2 separate regions of the Homo sapiens genome follow, and region 2 is linked to region 1. The links are contacts of gene promoters, found by promoter capture Hi-C in blood cells and fetal thymus (Javierre and others, 2016). All regions are on one chromosome and are shown on one strand. Each heading gives the region's core, a stretch centred on a gene start or on the middle of the fragment in contact. The rest is flanking DNA. Distances are from core to core; before and after follow the strand shown. Region 1 holds the start of MARCHF3 (membrane associated ring-CH-type finger 3). Region 2 overlaps MARCHF3 (membrane associated ring-CH-type finger 3).

The links. The method cuts DNA at HindIII sites, captures the fragments that hold promoters and counts their contacts. A CHiCAGO score of 5 or more calls a contact.
Region 2: a fragment that was not itself captured here is called in contact with the fragment with the promoter of MARCHF3 in region 1 in 6 of 17 cell types (naive B cells, erythroblasts, total B cells and 3 more); the score reaches 13.7 in naive B cells.

What each region holds. Positions count from the first base shown.
Region 1 is chr5:127,028,909-127,032,480 of GRCh38, reverse strand. It overlaps MARCHF3 (membrane associated ring-CH-type finger 3), which reads left to right and starts at 1,923. Exons shown (of 5, transcript NM_178450.5): 1 at 1,923-2,131. It overlaps LOC105379163 (a long non-coding RNA gene), which reads right to left and starts at 1,138. Exons shown (of 2, transcript XR_007058920.1): 1 at 1-1,138. RefSeq lists an enhancer at 1,041-1,585 and a silencer at 1,582-1,961. The HindIII fragment of the contact is 7,560 bases long and covers 1-3,572 here.
Region 2 is chr5:126,898,980-126,902,551 of GRCh38, reverse strand. All of the region lies in intron 3 of MARCHF3 (membrane associated ring-CH-type finger 3), which reads left to right. Among named protein-coding and RNA genes, the nearest start is that of LMNB1, 120 kb to the right of the region's middle. The HindIII fragment of the contact is 2,260 bases long and covers 639-2,898 here.

The sequences.
Region 1 (3,572 bases), core at 674-3,173:
CTGTAGTCCCAGCTACTTGGGAGGCTGAGGCAGGAGAATGGCGTGAACCCAGGAGGCGGAGCTTGCAGTGAGCCAAGCCATAGCACTCCAGCCTGGGCGACAGAGTGAGACTCTGCCTCAAAAAAAAAAGAAAAGAAAAGAAAGAACTTAAATATGGACAATGTTTGCATTACTGAGCAATTTTTCAGGGTCTGCAAAGGGCTATCCCTGCCCTAGTCTCCTGCCCTTCTGACAACCTTCCTATGGACCTTTTCCCATTGAGAAATGGAGCTGAGGAGACAGAATTGAAACTCAAACCAGGCCAGAGCTCACCTAAGAGGGGCCATTTCACTCCTTTTCAGCCACCAGCCCTTTACATTCCTTCTCCCTGGTGACCTCATCAGAACCTTCTCATGAGAGGTCAGCTATGATGCAAGACCTTATAGAGGCCAGATGGCATTGAAATAACACCTTGCAGCTCCCTTACATGTGAATAATTGCCCATACTGAGAGACTAAAACCCTTAGGACTTCTGGGACCTGAATGAGGCAATGGTCTGAAGTGGGCTTGCGCTGGAAGCAAGACGTAAGTGGTGAAGGTGAGTATCAGGGCAGCAGGTTGACCCCTTTCTTGTTATGAGCATGCATTCCTTCATTCTTACTAATACGGGTTAGGTGCCTACCCATGGCAAGAGCAGTTCTAGGCAGGGAGAGGCCCCTACCCACCCACAGCTGACGGTCTAGGGCTTGTTTACATTCTAGGTTTCAGCGGGAAAGCAAGAACACCCAACTCCCTGCTTTTGATTCTATGTTAGTAGCTCAGCGCGCCTGTGCGAGCACGTGCTGCAGCCAGGGTAGGGGCTCAGAAACTGGTTGACAAGATGAGCAGTGGGGTCCTAGGGGGTTGGGCGGGAAGGGCCCACAAGGCCATATTCCAGGCTGTTCGGCTGCGAGTGACCCCTGAGAGGTCGGGATCTCCGAGCTCGTCCGATGTCTCCATCCCAGCCAGGAGCTTGCGAAGGGGAAGGAGGGCGGAAGCAGAGTGGGACAGATGTGGTTCGTTCTGGGGCTTCCTGTCCACGAAGATGGATAATTCTAGCGACCCGCCTGGGATTTTGGAATCCTGGCGGACCCAAAAGACAGCAGAAGTCACCGCAGAGGATGCCACCCCGCACGGCAGCCCGCCCAGAGCGACGGTCTCACAGGTTCCGGCGCCGTCGAGCGCCCAAGCCTCCTGTTGGCCGCCAGCTGTGTCCGCGACGCGCTGGGTCGGGAGGAGGAGACCCGAGGCGCCGGTAAGTCCCCCGCTGCAGGTGGCCCGGAGGGCAGGGGTGAGGACGGGGACGTGTACTGAACTTTGGGAGGTTTGCGGGGCTGGAGTTTTGTTTCAGAGATAGCCAGATCGAGATCAGAACGTTTTCCAGAGAGCCCAGGTTTCCACTTGTGGCTGGGCGACCCGGTCCGGAATTCATCCTTTCTCGGCCCTCAGCTTCCTCCGGGCGGGGTTCCGATGGGGCAGCTAAGTTCCGCGCCTCCTGCCGGTGCCAGATACTGGCGTGTCGACCCGCGCTGCGGTTGGCTTCTTGCTCCACAGCGCTATGCGCGCGGCGGCTCCGAGGGCTCCTGGTCTCTCTCAGCCAACGGCCTTCTGGGGCCGCCGCCTCCCTCTAGAGCTGCTCGGGTCCCATTGCAGAGAGTCCCGCAGCGCCCGCCGGCAGCCACGGCACTTCGCAATAACCAACTTCCCCGCCGCCGGCGCGTCCCGCCAGCCTGCCCTCGGCCGCAGGCGACTGGACGGCGGTTACGGGGCGGTCCCAGCGCCACCACGACTGGCTGTCGGCTCCGCCAGTCATGGGCTGATGACGCCCCGGGGCTGGCTCCGCCCCTAGCGGCAGCCCCGCCTCCCCTCCAGAGCCTGGTCGGCTTAGCCCTGCTTTCCGCCTCACTCGTTGAGCAGGTCCGTGAATTGTCAGCGCGCTGTGGGCGACTGTGTGGCCGCGGCGGCCGCCAGGCTTGCCGCACTCCCCCTGAGGTGCCCGCCGGAACCAATGTGCCCTGGTCCACTGGGCCGTGAGCAGCCACCGACTGGGGGCAACTTGGCACTTAGAACCGCAGCAGGGACGTCGGTTTGCTATCGGGACTCGGCGAGGACGGTGAGTGGCCGCGCGCCGGGCTAGCGGCTCCTCTCGGCGCGGTTCGGCGGCGGCGAGAGGGGACGGGACGCGTCCTGGCGCTCGGCGGTCCGTTCGTCCGAGCGTGACCGCTGTGGGGAGGTCAGGGCTGGGCGGGATTTACTCCGTGCCAATATCCCCACTCCCGAACTTCTTCTTGTCAAAGCATCCCAACTCCGCCCGGGACGCGGTTCCAGTCCGCACCAACTTGGCGTAATTGACATGGGTAGGTGGGGCCGGGACGCGTCCCCTGCCCCTCTGCGGCAACGACATGGAGCGCTGGGGCGGCCTCCGCGCCCGCGGCGTGCGGACCGCGGTTCCTGAAAAATTACCCGCGCTGTGCGGTACGGTAAGACCCGGCGTCCGCGTCTGGATCTCAAGGCTGAGCGAGCGCTCATCGGGCTCAAGGTGGGTCTCAGCGCCAGAGAACTGGAGTACCAGCCGGGTTCTGTAGCGGGGGCTTCAGTGCTCTGCAGCTACTGAGAGGAATTGAGAGCACTGCTGGGCTTTGAACTTTCTAAAGTAATTGCTTTCTATTAGCACTTGAATCCATGACCCTCCTGAGGTGCTCGGACCTCCACATCCACCCGCAAGGGGTGTCCGAAGGACTTCGTTAGGACCAGGCGGGAGCTGCTGTCGGTTCTGGTGCCCAGTGCCTTGGAGAATCCTAGAGGCTGCGAAAGGGATTGCCAGCCTGGTCGGTTGGTGTTTGTTTGAGCACCTGCGTGTTTAAGTGATGAAGTTGAGTCAGGAATTGACAGCAGAGAACTCAAGGTTAAACCTGACACTCCGTTTGTGACTCGGTCTGGGTTAGATTGTTTTCCCCCCTTAATGGTAAGGGGGTAAAAGCAGCTTGTTTTTCTGAGACCAACTACATGCATGTAGTTTATATTATGTGCGGAATAAACAGAATTCAATACGATATTTTCTTACAATTCTTATTTGACATGAATAAGAGCTTTTGAAAATACTAGACAGAAACAGGTCCAGAATTTGGGGATGTTTAGACCTTTGAAAATACATGAAAATGTTGAGATATATAGTTCTGTATGTGTATATGAAGATGTAGATGCGCATATACACACATACATACGTGTATATGTGTGAGTGTGTGTATATATAAAATTAAAAGGTGAATGAGGTAAATATATGAAGGGGAAATTCAGCCTTGAACTTCCCTTGGGTCACAGAGATGGATCCTCTGAGCTGTGGGGTGTTAGTGAGTGTGTATGCGTAAGCATGTCTGCATCTGCCTGGTCTGTCTGGGTCAGAGTATGTCCATGAACTTTACGAGCGTTCAGTTCAATACCACTCAGTGCAGAATCCGCGTTCCTGTTTTACAGCCCAGCAGCCGCCAGCCGGCCCATCTGTTAAAACATAACATGTACACTTCAGTCCGACCACTGGGGTGGAGCCTGGGTAG
Region 2 (3,572 bases), core at 519-3,018, 130 kb after region 1:
GAGGGAAAATCCAGTTCTGTGTATAAAAAGAATTCCATAACCAGATTCTGTTATTTTCAATTGTTCTGATCCTTGCTGTGAACTTGGGTTGGATACAAATGAGAACCCACATTCTCAAGAGGACCTCTGTCCACCTTGATAGCAGCCCTCTTCATCTTTCCAAGGACTTCTGTGAGCAGAAACACAAAGATGCAAAACACCAATAATTGCTTCATATAACATGTTCATTTTAATCTATGTTTTTAAAAATACAGAAGAGGACAAAGAATACTATAACAAACAGGTGTGTATTCACTACCCAGAATTAACAAACGCCTTCAAAGGAATAGCCTGTTGGGGCCAGGGAGAAAACCGTGGTCTTCACTGATTCATCCCTAGGTGTTCTCAAATAGGGAGGAAATCCAGCCAGGTTTTCCTTAAGCACATGTGGACCAAGAATAAGAGGAAGTTAACAGAAGAGACAGATCATCTTGAAAGATTCCGGACCCTTTCAGCTAACTCCAAATGTACAAACAATTAGTACAGCAAATGTTGACAGCTATGGAGTTCACTTCTTTGAAAGGCAGACAATTAGAAGTTATTCCATGGGTGTTGGGGTGGTGGAAGTCAAGGTGTCTTGGGCTGCTGGCAGAAAAGCTTTGTAAGGGGGAGTCTGAGAGAGGAGAATTGAAATGTCACTGAATAACTACAGCTGGTAATCACCTTCATCCTAAGTCCTGCTGAAATAACAAGGCACAATTAACTCTCAGGAATTGCCCTGTGTTGGGTACAAGGCACCTGGTTGAGCTGAAGGGAGACATAAATTGCAGAAGCCCTGGTGCAGATTTCAGAAGCAGAGTTATAGAATATGCATAACGCTCCCTGCTGAGGGCTCCTGCCAGCCCTCCACAAGCATCTTCAGTTTTAAGTGTCAACAACTGACTTTTAACTCCAAAGAAAGAATACATAGTTTTAAATGACTAATGTGTGAAATATTGAGAACAATACATGATTATAGCTAATCCCTCACACTGCCTAACAATCAGTTGTAAACGAGTGAGCAGAGAGAAGTATCTTCAGTTAGGCACAGGGAGATCGGTGGTTGTTTATTCACTGAATGAGACCTGCTATGCCTGTTTGTGCAAAGAATTTTACTTTCCAGAATAGGCACAGATCTTGATTCCAGTCCAGTGGCATTAATTAACGTGAGTCCATCTATGTTTATCAAGATGTTCACACCCCAGAGTTTTTTCTTCTTAAATTTTGTTTACCCATTTCTGAGGCAAAGGAAAAATATTACATGCAATATTCTTTGCAATCTAGTTTTACAGAGTTAAGGGGTTAGATTTGCACTGTGATGGATATGTGAGAAGAAAGTTATGTTGTGCTTGTATACACTTTATATAATCATCTTATTTCAATGTCTCAGGTATCCTTCTCATAGCAGATATTATCGTATTCTGTAGATAAGGAAGCTGCAACTCAGACCTAAGTCACTCTTCATTGATCTTAAATACTTTCAGCCTCAGGGCTAGTAAGTGGAGAAGGCAAAAGAATAATGCAGGTGGTCCAGGCACGGTGGCTCATGCCTGTTATCCCAGCACTTTGGAAGCCTGAGGCGGGTGGATCACGTGACTAAGATCAGAAGTTCGAGACCAGCCTGACCAACATGGTGAAACCCTGTCTCTACTGAAAACACAAAAATTAGCTGGGCGTGGTGGCAGGCTCCTGTAATCCCAGCTATTTGAGAGGCTAAGCCAGGAGAATCACTTGAACACAGGAAGCAGAGGTTGCAGTGAGTTGAGATCATGCCACTGCAGTCCAGCCTGGGCAACAGAGTGAGACTCCATCTCAAAAAAAAAAAAAAAATTAAAGAAGAATCCAGGTCTATCTCCAAAGCCCACGTTCTTTCCACCACACCTAGTGGCCCAGTCCATTCTGGCTACTATAAATGAAATACTGTAAACTGAATGGCTTATAAACAACAGAAATGTATTTCTCACAGTCCTGGAGGCTGGGAAGTCCAAGGTCAGGGTGCCGACATAGTTGGGTTCTAGTGAGGGTCCTCCTCCTGGTTGCAGACTGCCAACTTCTGTCTATGTCCTCACATGGTAGACGGGAAGAGCTAGTTCTCTGGAGTCTCTTTTGTAAGGGCACAAATCTCAGTCATGGGTGCTCCATCCTCCTGACCTAATCACCTCCCAAAGGCCCCACTTCCTAATACCATCACCTTGAGGGTTAGGATTTCAAAATATGAATTTTGGAGGACACAAACATTCAGACCATTGCACCTGGCTTCCTTCCTGGCTCTAAAGTACTTTCTTGCATTTGCTCATTGGCATGAACCTATGCACACATAGAGCTGAGGGTTTCTTTGCCGATAAGCCTTTCCAAGAAACTACATGTGCTTCAGAAGGGGGAAGATGGAAAAAAAAATTATGAGTAAAGCCCTTATTTCCTCTTGACACCAGATTCGTCTATTAAATCAGAGAGTTAGCAAGGAGGGAAGGATGAAAAGGTGGAGCACAGAGGATTTTTAGGGCAGTGAAACTAGTCTGCACTATAATGGTGGATTCATGTCATTATATCAAAACCCATAGAACGTTCAACACAAGAGTTAACTCTAATGTAAGGCATGAGCTTTGGTGATGATGTGTCAAGGTAGGTTCATCACTAGTGACACATGTACCACTGTGGTGTGGGCTGTTGACAGTAGAGGGGACTGTAGGGGACAGGGGGAGACAGGGATATATGAGAACCCTCTGTGCTTTCCATTCAATTTTGCTGTGAACCAAAAACTGCTCTAAAAAATAAAGTCTGTTTTAAAAAACACCCTGAGCTGTGCCAGATCAAGTGCTGGAAGAGTAGAGTGGCACTTCTTTCCTGTGTCTCTTTGTACTCTAGTTGGAAAGCAAAGCTTTTGGCTACAGCACCCTATCAGAAGCCAGAAAAATCATTCTTCATTTTCAAGTGACTTTACATAGCCTTTCTTTTTTTCTTCTCATTTAGTTACTCTTCCTCTGCATTTGAGTCTTCAGTTTACTGAGTCATTATGTTACCAATTCCTTAGGAGGAATCTTTTAATCCAAAATTGTCAGAAACCTTTCCCTCCTTTCACGAATGGTTGTGAAGGTTAATCAGTCCTCATGTGGCTGTACACACTTGTGAGACAAATTTCTTTAAAACTACCATCAAGATAATTCAGATTGGTAAACCTTATTTTGCAACCCAGAAAGGAAAACACTGATTTTTCTCTTCAATTATTTGTGGCTCTCCCTCAATTCTTTGCCTCACTTTTTTTGACAGGTGCAGCAGATTTGGGGGAAGATAAGAAAACACCCCTGTCAGGTCTTCAGGCTTTGCCGTCCTCCTCATTCTTCATGGAATGTATGTTTCTGTGGCGTGCCTCACCACTGCCCGCCTCCTTTCTTGAAGAGATAGGAACGCTGTGAGATTGTTTGGGATAAAGCGGTTTCTTTGCAATCCATCATTACAGAGTTAGAGGGATAGATTTACACTGTGATGGATATGTGAGAAGAAGGTTATGTTGGTGCTTGTAAAACACGAAAGAGAAATAATATGCTTTTGAAGCT